2 separate regions of the Homo sapiens genome follow, and region 1 is linked to region 2. Evidence: promoter capture Hi-C in 16 types of primary human blood cells and fetal thymus (Javierre and others, 2016). All regions are on one chromosome and are shown on one strand. Each heading gives the region's core, a stretch centred on a gene start or on the middle of the fragment in contact. The rest is flanking DNA. Distances are from core to core; before and after follow the strand shown. Region 1 has its middle 45 kb from the start of GBP6. Region 2 holds the start of GBP7 (guanylate binding protein 7).

Region 1 (5,153 bases), core at 398-2,897, 140 kb before region 2:
CATTACCAAACCTAGGGAAAGATAACAATATTCAAGAACAAGAAGATTATAGGAGACCAGGCAGATTTAACACAAATAAGACTACCTCAATATGTTTAATAATCAAACTCCCAAAGGTCAAGGATAAATAAGGCATACTAAAAGCAAAAAGAGAAAAGAAAAAAAAAAACATATAAAGGAGCTTCAATATGTCTAGCACATATTACTCAGTGGAAAGCTTACTAGCCAGGAGTAAGTGGTATAATATATTTAAACTGCTAAAAAAAAATCTTTTATCCTAGAATATCATACCAGTGAAAATATCCTTCAAACATAGAGGAAAAGTAAAGACTTTTCCAGCAAACAAAAGCTGAGGTAGTTCATCAACATAAGACCTGTCCTAAAAGAAATGCTAAAGAGAGTACTTCAATCTGAAAGGAAAGCATGTTAATGAGCAAAAAAAAAATCATCTGAGTACATAAAATTCACTGGTAACAGTGAGTATACCGACAAATATAAAATAATATGACACTGTAATTGTGGTATGTAAACTACTCATACCTTGCATAGGAAGAGTAAAAGACAAATTTATCGAAAATAATAACCACAACAACTTTTTAAGACATAGTATAATAAGATATAAATAGAAACAACGAATAGTTGAAAAGCAGAGAGGATGAAGTTAAAGTGTTGAATGTTATTAGTTTTCTCTTTGCTTGTCAGTTTTTTTTTGTAGATTTTAGCAATTAGAGTTTAACTGTCATCAGTGTAAAATAATGAGTTACAAGATATTAGTTGCAAGCCTTGTGGTAACCACAAATCAAAAAACCTACAACAGATACACAAAAAATGTATAGAGCAAGAACTTAAAACATACCAACAAGAAAATCACTTTCACAAAAAGAAAGACATGAAGGAAGAAGAGAAGAAAGAGAAGACCACAAACAACCAGAAAACAAAACCAAATGGCAGGAGTAAGTTGTTATTTAGCAACAATAACATTGAATGCAAATGGACTATACTCTCCAATCAAAAGACACAGAGAGGCCGAATGGATTAAAAAAACAGAATCCAGTGATCTGTTGCCTACAAGAAACACACTTCACCTATAAAGACACACACAAACTGAAAATAAGAAGAAGGAAAAAGACATTCCATGCCAATGGAAACCAAAAAAAGAGCAGGAGTAGCTATACTTATATCAGATAAAAGCATTTCAAGATAAAAACTATAAAAAAGACAAAGAATGTCACTATGTAACGAGTAAAAGGGATTAATATAGCAAGAGGATATAACCATTGTAAATATATATGCACCCAATACTGGAGCATCTAGATATATAAAGCAAATATTATTAGTTCAAAAGAGAGAGACAGACCACAGTATAATAACAGCTGGAGATTTCAACACCTCACCTTCAGCATTGGACAGATCAGCCAAACAAAAATTACAAAGAAAATATCAGACCTAATCTATACTATAGACCAAAAGACCTAATAGATATTTACAGATTATTTCATCCAAGGGTTGAAAAATACACGTTCTTCTGCTCAGGAAATAGATCATCCTCAAGTATAGACTATACTTTAAGCCACAAAATCAGTCTGAAAAATACAAAAAAGGTAAATATGATACTTGACACATATCAAGTATCTTCTCTGACCACAATGGAATAAAACTAGAAATCAAGCATATGAGAAAACTTAAAAGGAACACAAACATTTGGAAATTAATCAATTTGCTCCTGAATGACCAGTGGGTCAAAAAACAAGAATCAAATTTAAGAATTCCTGAAACAAATGCAAATGGAAAGAAAACATACCAAAACTTATGGGATAAGCAAAAGTGGTACTAAGAGGAAAGTTTATAGCAATAAGCACCTACAACAAAGAGGGAGCAATACTTCAAATAATCTAATGATGCATCTTAAGGAACTAGAAAAGCAAGAGCAAACCAAACCTAACATTAGTAGAAGAAAAGACATAATAATGATCTGAGCAGGAAAAAAAAAGAAATTGAAATGAGAAAAGCAATACTAAATGTCATCAAAAAGAAAAGTTGGTTTTTTGAAAAGATAATGAAAATTGGCAAACTTTTAGCCAGACTAACTGATAAAGACAGAAGACCCAAATAAATAAAATCAGAGATGAAAAAGGAGACATTACAACTTATACTGCAGAAATGTAAAGAATCACTGGACTACTATGAACAACTGTATGTCCACAAATTGGAAAACCTAAAAGAAGTGGATAAATTCCTAGACATACACAACCTACCAAGATTGAACCATTAAGAAATCTGAAGCCTAAATAGAGCAATAAAAAGTAATGACATCAAAGCCATAATAAAAAGTCTCCCAGCAAAGAAAAGCCCAGGACCCAATGGTCTCAATGCTGAACTCTACCAGACATTTAAAAAAGAATACCAATCCAACTCAAACTATTCCCCCAAAAAAGAAGGAGAGGGAATACTATGAAACTTATTCTACAAGGCCGGTATTACCCTGATGCCAAAAGCAAAGAAACATCAAAAAAAGAAAACAACAGGCTAATATCTCTGGTTAATATTGATACAAATATCCTCAACAAAATACCAGCAAAGCAAATTCAACATCAAATTTGAAAGATCATTCATCATGACTGTCATTGCAACCCCTGCTTTTTTTTTCTTTTATTTCCATTTGCTTGGTAAATATTCCTTCATTCCTTTATTTTGAGCCTATGTGTGACTGCACATGAGATGGGTCTTCTGAATACAGCACACCAATGGATCTTGACTTTTTATTCAATTTGTCAGTCTGTGTCTTTTAATTGGGTCATTTGGCCCATTTACATTTAAGGTTAACATTGTTATGTGTGAATTTGATCCTGTCATCATGATGCTAGCTAGTTATTTTGCACATTTGTTGATGCAGTTTCTTCCTAGTGTCATTGGTCTTTATATTTTGGTCTGTTTTTGGTGTGGCTGGTATCAGTTTTTCCTTTCCATATTTAGTGCTTCCTTCAGGAGCTCTTGTAAGGCAGGCCTGGTGGTGACAAAATCCCTCAGCATTTGCTTGTCTGTAAAGAATTTTATTTCTCCTTTGCTTATGAAGCTTAGTTTGGCTGGATATGAAATTCTGGGTTGAAAATTCTTCTATTTAAGAATGTTGAATATTGACCCCCACTGTCTTCGGGCTTGTAGGGTTTCTGCAGAGAGATCTGCTATTAGTCTGATGAGCTTCCTTTTGTAGGTAACCTGACCTTTCTCTCTAGCAGCCCTCAACATTTTTCCTTCATTTCAACCTTGGAGAATCTGATGATTATGTGTCTTGGGGTTACTCTTCTCAAGGAGTATCTTAGTGAAGTTCTCTGTATTTCCTGAATTTGAATGTTGACTTGTCTTGCTAGGTTGGGGAAGTTCTCCTGGATAATATCCTGAAGTATGTTTTTGAACTTCGTTGCATTCTCCCCATCACTTTCAGGGACCCCAATCAATTGTAGGCTTGGTCTTTTGACATAGTCCCATATTACTTGGAGGCTTTGTTCATTCCTTCCCATTCTTTTTTTTCTAATCTTATCTTCATGCCTTTTTTCAGTAAGTTGATCTTTAATCTCTTCTATCCTTTCTTCCGCTTGATTGATTCATCTATTGATACTCGTGTATGCTTCACGAAGTTCTCATGCTGTGTTTTTCAGCTCCATCAGGTCATTTATGTTCTTCTCTAAACTGGTTATTCTAGTTAGCAGTTCCTGTATCCTTTTGTCAAGGTTCTTAGCTTCTTTGAATTGGGTTAGAACATGCTCCTTTAGCTCAGAGCAGTTTGTTATTACCTACTTCTGAAGCCTACTTCTGTCTATTCATCAAACTCATTGTCTGTCTAGTTTTGCGCCCTTGCTGGAAAGGAGATGTGATCATTTGGAGAAGAGGCATCCTAGTTTTTGGAATTTTCAGCATATTTGCACTGTTTTTTCCTCATTTTCTGTATTTATCTCCCTTTGATATTTGAGGCTGATGGCCTTTTGATGGGGTTTCTGTGTGCGGGTCTTTTTGTTGATGTTGATGTTATTGCTTTCTCTTTGTTACTTTTTCTTCTAATGGTCAGGCCTCTCTTCTGCAGGTCTGTTGCAGTTTGCTGGAGCTCCACTCCAGACCCTATTTGCCTGGGTATCACCCATTGGGGCTGAAGAACAGCAGAGATTGCTGCTTGCTCCTTCCTCTGGAAGCTTCATCCCAGAGGGTTACCGGCCTGATCCTCGCCAGATCCCTCCTGTATGACGTGTCTGTGAACCCCTGTTGGGAGGTCTATCCCAGTAAGGAGGCAGTCTGTCCCTTAGCAGAGCTTGAGCACTGTGCTGGGAGAATCCTCCTTGTCAGGATCTGCTGCTCTCTGCAGAGCTGGCAGGCAGGAACATTTAAATCTGCTGAAGCTGTGCCCAAAGCTGCCCCTTCCACCAGGTGCTCTGTCCCAGGGAGATGGAGTTTTATCTATAAGCCCCCGACTGGGACTGCTGCCTTACTTTCAGAGATGCCCTGCCCAGTAAAAAGGAATCTAGAGAGGCAGTCTGGCCACAGCCACTTTGCCGCATTGTGTTGAGTTCCACCCAGTCTGAACTTCCAGGCCTCCTTAGTACTGTCAGGAGAAAACTACCTATCAAAGCCTCAGTAATGGCGGATGCCCCTCCCTGCACCAAGCTTGATCATCCCAGGTTGACTTTAGGCTGCTGCACTGGCAGCAAGAATTTCAAGCCAGTATTTCTTAGCTTCCTGGGCTCTGTGGGAGTGGGACCCACTGAATGAGACCACTTGGCCCCCTGGTTTCAGCCTCCATTCTAGGGGAGTGAACAGTTCTGTCTCTCTGGGGTTCTAGGTGCCACTGGGATATGAAAAAAAAAAAAAACCCTCCTGCATCTAGCTCAGTGTCTGCCCAAATAGCTGCACAGTTTTTTGCTTGAAACTCAGGGCCCTGGTGGTGTTGGCACATGAGGGAATCTCCTGGTCTGCAGATTTCCAAAACTATGGGAAAAGTGTAGTATCTGGGCTGGTTAGCATAGTCCCTCATGGCTTCCTTGCTTGGAAAACAGAGGCCCCCCACTCCTTACACTTCCTGGGTAAGGCAATATCCCACCTTGCTTCTGCTCACCCTCTGCACTGCACCCACTGCCTAACCAGTCCCAATGAGATGAACAGGGTAC
Region 2 (5,220 bases), core at 1,744-4,243:
ATTTTGGCAATACTATGTACCTAAACATGTTAAATAATCCTGTTTACCTCTTCTCTGGGTGATTCAGGGGCCCCCTGATCCTTCCAAAAAGCCAGGCATCGGGAAAGACAATTTTGAAACTGAAGTTTGATTTTGGGAAGGCTGTTAAATATGTTCGGAGTTTAAAACACTTGATACTATGAAATAGAATTCCAGATTACCATGAATGATGTATTTTGCCAAAAGGTTGACTCAGAAATATTAAAGAAGCAAAAGCCTTTTATAACCCTTTACAAATTTTGCCGAAGAGCAAATTAGTGCCTTAAGAAAACCTTATTGTACTTTTAATGCTCAGTTTACAGAAAAACAATATAATACCTTTCTGAATTTAGTCAATATGTTCACACAGAGAATTTCTTTTGCAAGATTTTTAGAAACCTTCCACCACTTATTTGAACTTTTAGCTTTATCTTAATTTAAAACAATTGTTTAACCCTAGGCAATAATTTACTTTTCCATACCTTCTTATAACGTTTTACAAAAAAAAAAAAAACACATTCTATTCTTCTTATACAATTTGCATGTAAAACTATTTTAGTAGTCTCAATTACATGTAATAATGGTGACTGTTAGTCATTTTAATTTTAATTTTAATGTCTTTTCTTATTCATGTTTTATAAAATAATTTTTTGAGAGAGACTGTCAGTCTGTCACCCAGGCTGAAGTGCAGTGGTGCTATCTCGGCTCACTGCAACCTCTGCCTCCCAGGTTCAAGCGATTCTCCTGCTTCAGCTTCCCTAGTAGCTGGGAGTACAGGCATGTACCACCACACCTGGCTAATTTTTTTGTATTTTTGCAGAGTCGGGGTTTCACTGTGTTGACCAGGCTGGTCTCAAGCTCCTGACCTCAAGTGATCCACCCACCTCAGTCTCCCAAAGTGCTGGGATTACAGGTGTGAGCCACCTCGCCCAGCATTTACACTGCACTATTTTTAGCTGGTTTATATATAACATGTTTCCCTAGGATCAATGCCATCCTGTTTTCCCATTAGAGAATTGACAACACAATTTGCTGGTACATCCTCAAATTTGCTATACCTTCCTTGTATTCTTCATCCTATGCTCACCTTGGAAATGTGGTAGCCATTTGCTTATCTAAAAGAATATTAAAATTTATCTCCCTTGGAAGAAATGGCTATAGACAGGATAGGCACCGGGCTTAAGCTCCCAAAGTGTCAGGAAGCCTGGGTCTCTGTCTTTCTGGATATTTCCATTTCAAAAGGCATGGAGCCCAGACTCTTGAAGACATCTCTGGGTTGTAAAGCTGGCACTGATATTTAGCCCCTAGAAAGCTCTATTTGTATTCAAAAGGTTAAAGAAAGGACTCTGGCCCACTTGTCTCTAAAGAAACACTCTAAAAACAAGCTGGGGTCTGGCATGGTGGCTCACACCTGTAATTCCAACACCTTGGGAGGCTGAGGCGGGTGGATCACCTGAGATTGGGAGTTCGACATCAGCCTGACCAACATAGAGAAACTCCATCTCTACTAAAAATACAAAATTAGCCGGGCTTGGTGGCTCATGCCTGTAATCCTAGCTACTCAGGAGGCTGAGACAGGAGAATCGCTTGAACCCAGGAGGTGGAGGTTGCAGTGAGCGAAGATTGTACCATTGCACTCCAGCCTGGGCAACAAGAGAGAAACTCTGTCTCAAAAAAAAAAAACACAAGTTGGGAAAGTGGGATCTTTTTTTCTTATAAATTTATGTACCCTTAAATTATACATGATTCACAAAGATTCAATTTTGCCTGGGGCTATTTTTTGTTTGCATGATATAAACAATAGATTTTATTACTTAGAAGCAGGTGATTTCCTAGCAATAGTTCTGTTTTGAAATAACCCTGCCTTACTTTCACTTTAAATCTCATCAATATTCACACACACACAGAGAAGTCTTACTCTCTGCTCTCCATTTCTCTCTCTCTCTTCCCCGCTTCCCACCTTCCTCTCTTTTAGAGACAATGTGCAGTAGAGAATCAATGTGGTTTTAACCAAATGGATTTTCAAGTTTGAATCTCGCTCAATTACTTGCTACCTTGGTGTGTAGCTCAATGGCTTTAGTTAGACATATTAATTACCCGTTTTCTGATTATTTTTCCCCCTTGGACAATGGGGATAATAAACAACCTTTATCTTGAGGTATTTTGATATTTAAAATGGTATGTGTAAAGAATATGGCCTAGAATGGAACTGATAAGGAGAAAACATTGTTATTGTACACTCAGCAAACACAGAGGTATTTTAATGAAGTGACTGACAGCAAGACTTCTTGGGCCCAAATCTTATTTAGTAGCTCTGTAATTGTAATAAATTATTAAATCCCTCTTTTAACATTGTGGTAAAAGTATTTGTGATAAGAATACAATGGGATAATCTATGTAAACAAAACGGGTACTATCTTCATTATTATTTATTAAATGTTAAGTGCCAAGACCTGAGTTAGGTGCTAATAATTCAAACATGTATAAGACGTGGACATTCCTTCAGGGCATTTAGAGTCCTCATTATTAAACACAAATAATGAGTTCCATTTTAAGAGTCTAATATTCAAGCCAATTGAACCTAAATAATATTATATTAAGCTTTCTTATTCCTGTACTTCTCAATGTGGCCCACAAACATGAGATGAATGTCATTATTTTAAACGATTCATTGAAGTTTTTTTAATAATCGCAAGCTGTCTCTAAGATCTCTTCCAATAATAAAATTGGAAGATTCTGTTTGAGAAATTATGTCAAATCCTCTCACTAGCACAGCTGTCAGCAATTTCTTTTATTGTTGCTAAATCATGGACTGTCATATTACTCTATTTATTTGCAGAGGTTGCATTGTTTTTTACATGTATAAATACAGGTCTCTAGAAAGTCTGGAAAGCCCCATGACATTGGAGAGGTAAGGTAAAAGTCCAAAGTTCCAGCAAGAAAAAAAGTGGGAGAAATCAGTGCAGCCAAATTCAGAACTAAAGAGAAGAGAATAAAGACTCATAACTTTCTCATTGAAGCTGCCTTCTTACCAAGTCCAGAGGATCTCTACTCTGGGTAAGACTATGACTTATAAGGATTTCATGATTTATAAGGATCCATTAGTTTTCTCTAAGTTGACCATCCCCAAGATAGGCTGCAGCTGAGCCAGCTACAGGATACAAGTCCAGATGAAATCCTGGCCTCTTAGGTGGCTGTGTGTACCTTAGTGTGCTCTAATTCCTGCTGTGTCAGATTAGGCTTCAGCAGAGGTGGAACAGATATTCAGAGAAGCCAGTGTTCTAAGATTGTTATTTCTTTTCTGACACCATCTTAAATTACTGTTATCTTTAAATATCTGCCTAATAGGCTCTGTCACTTTCTTTATTGGGCCCAACATTTATAGCTCTAGGTAAATGAAGGTAGGCAACTTGGGATCTGCAAAAAGAGGCAACACATTATTATAATCCAGGACCTTATAACATCTTTGTGCCACCACCTTTCTGAGCCGGTGACTGATTGATTCCTATGTTATGGTAGCATAGTATATGCTACAGAATTGGACAGACGCATACTCTGTTTTCACTCATCTTCCATAGATACCCAATCTTTTTAGTTTCTGGTTTGCCCTTCTTGCTTGCCAGCAGATCCTGTAGGCCATTGCTATAAGAGGAAATGGGTCATGATCACAGAAAAATAAACGGCTTTTTTTCCATCTTCTGCTGAAGTGATGGGAAGCCAGATAATTTAATATAAACCTCCAGAGGAACAAGTCAGAAGTAACCAACTCTATAGTGGAAACAAACCACTCTTTATTATAGGATAAAAAAGAAAACTGCAGTATCTATCATCTATATTTGCTTGTATCTTAAAGAGATTATATATTTTGTATCATGATCACATAAGTTACAAGGATTGAGACATTCAACTTAAAAACACAAAATTAAAGCATCACTACAAGAAGGCTTTTCACTCCTTTTAACTTTACAAAATTATCAAAATATTTAATTTATCAAGCCCTGGATAAAGATAGCATGATTACAATTGTGCATATGCTACTCTCTATACAGCAGAGATCAGACAAAAAACAAGCCATGGTTTTTCAAAGAATGTTTCATGCTGTGACTTCATTACATGAAATAATTAAAAACAATATGCAGACTGATATACATGGAGGTAATAAAGAATCAATCTTCAAATGCAGAGAATTCAAAATCTGTTAACATAATCAAGTCAAAAATCAACAGAGTAAGTGTCAGGTGCGAGCTATCAGGCTTGCATGAATAACGTGTGAATGCTGATGCACAGTGAGAGGAGGAAGCCATTGGGTAACCTGAGTCCCACAGTCTGACCAGACCCTGCCCACAGAGGGGCTTGCAAGAAATCAGGACCAAGAATGGGTTAGAATGGTATCTATGTTTCAAAGTATAGAGATATGTATAACACAATGTTTCCCAGGTGAAGATTACTACTACTATATACATGAGCTCAGCGAGCTCAGCTTTGCTCAGTCCAAAGATCTAAATGTGAACGTGAAAAGCTTCCAAAGGAAATTTTGTAATTAATTCAGAAGAGCAAGCGGGGCACCTAGGAAAAATTCCATTTTCTAGAAAATGACATACAAGATGAGCTGGTGGGAATGCAACCTTGTACAACTTTCTGGAGAGGAACTTGGCAATATCTACAAAATTATATACTCTCATCTTTTGACCAAGCAATCCCGTTGGTAGGACTCTATCCTGAAATTACTCCTGTAACAATATAAAAATACACATGCATAACGTTAGCAGAGTTATTCATTGCAGCATTGTTTGTAATTGCAAAATATTTGAAACAATCTAAATGCCCATACATTGAAGAGTGATTGAATAAACTGGGGTATAATCCACATAAAGGAGTAGATACATGTTAAAAGGATTTTAAAAGCTTTCTATGAACAGATGTGGAGGGATTTCCAAATTTCTATATGATGTGATCTTCGTGTTAGAAAATGTGAAAAAGAAAATATGTACATTCTCATTTGAGAAAAGAAAATCCAAGAAGCGTAAACCAGAAACTAACAAGATTGGGTATCTATGGAGGATGGGTGGGAATGTGGTAGAAAGAATAGAAGACCACTGCAATGTGAGTGGAGTGGTAAGATGAAGGAAAAGTGACACTTCTCTGACTGTAACTTTTTGAAAAGCTCTGCATTTCAGAACCATGATGTTTCACAAACTCAAA

The links. Contacts are between HindIII fragments. The CHiCAGO score rates a contact against its expected background, and 5 or more counts as called.
Region 1: a fragment that was not itself captured here is called in contact with the fragment with the promoter of GBP7 in region 2 in 3 of 17 cell types (total CD8 T cells, non-activated CD4 T cells and activated CD4 T cells); the score reaches 5.3 in total CD8 T cells.

The regions. Positions count from the first base shown.
Region 1 is chr1:89,316,429-89,321,581 of GRCh38, reverse strand. No RefSeq gene overlaps it. Among named protein-coding and RNA genes, the nearest start is that of GBP6, 45 kb to the left of the region's middle. The HindIII fragment of the contact is 2,856 bases long and covers 220-3,075 here.
Region 2 is chr1:89,173,776-89,178,995 of GRCh38, reverse strand. It overlaps GBP7 (guanylate binding protein 7), which reads left to right and starts at 2,993. Exons shown (of 11, transcript NM_207398.3): 1 at 2,993-3,075. The region is part of intron 3 of LOC105378842 (a long non-coding RNA gene); the gene reads right to left. The HindIII fragment of the contact is 1,918 bases long and covers 2,622-4,539 here.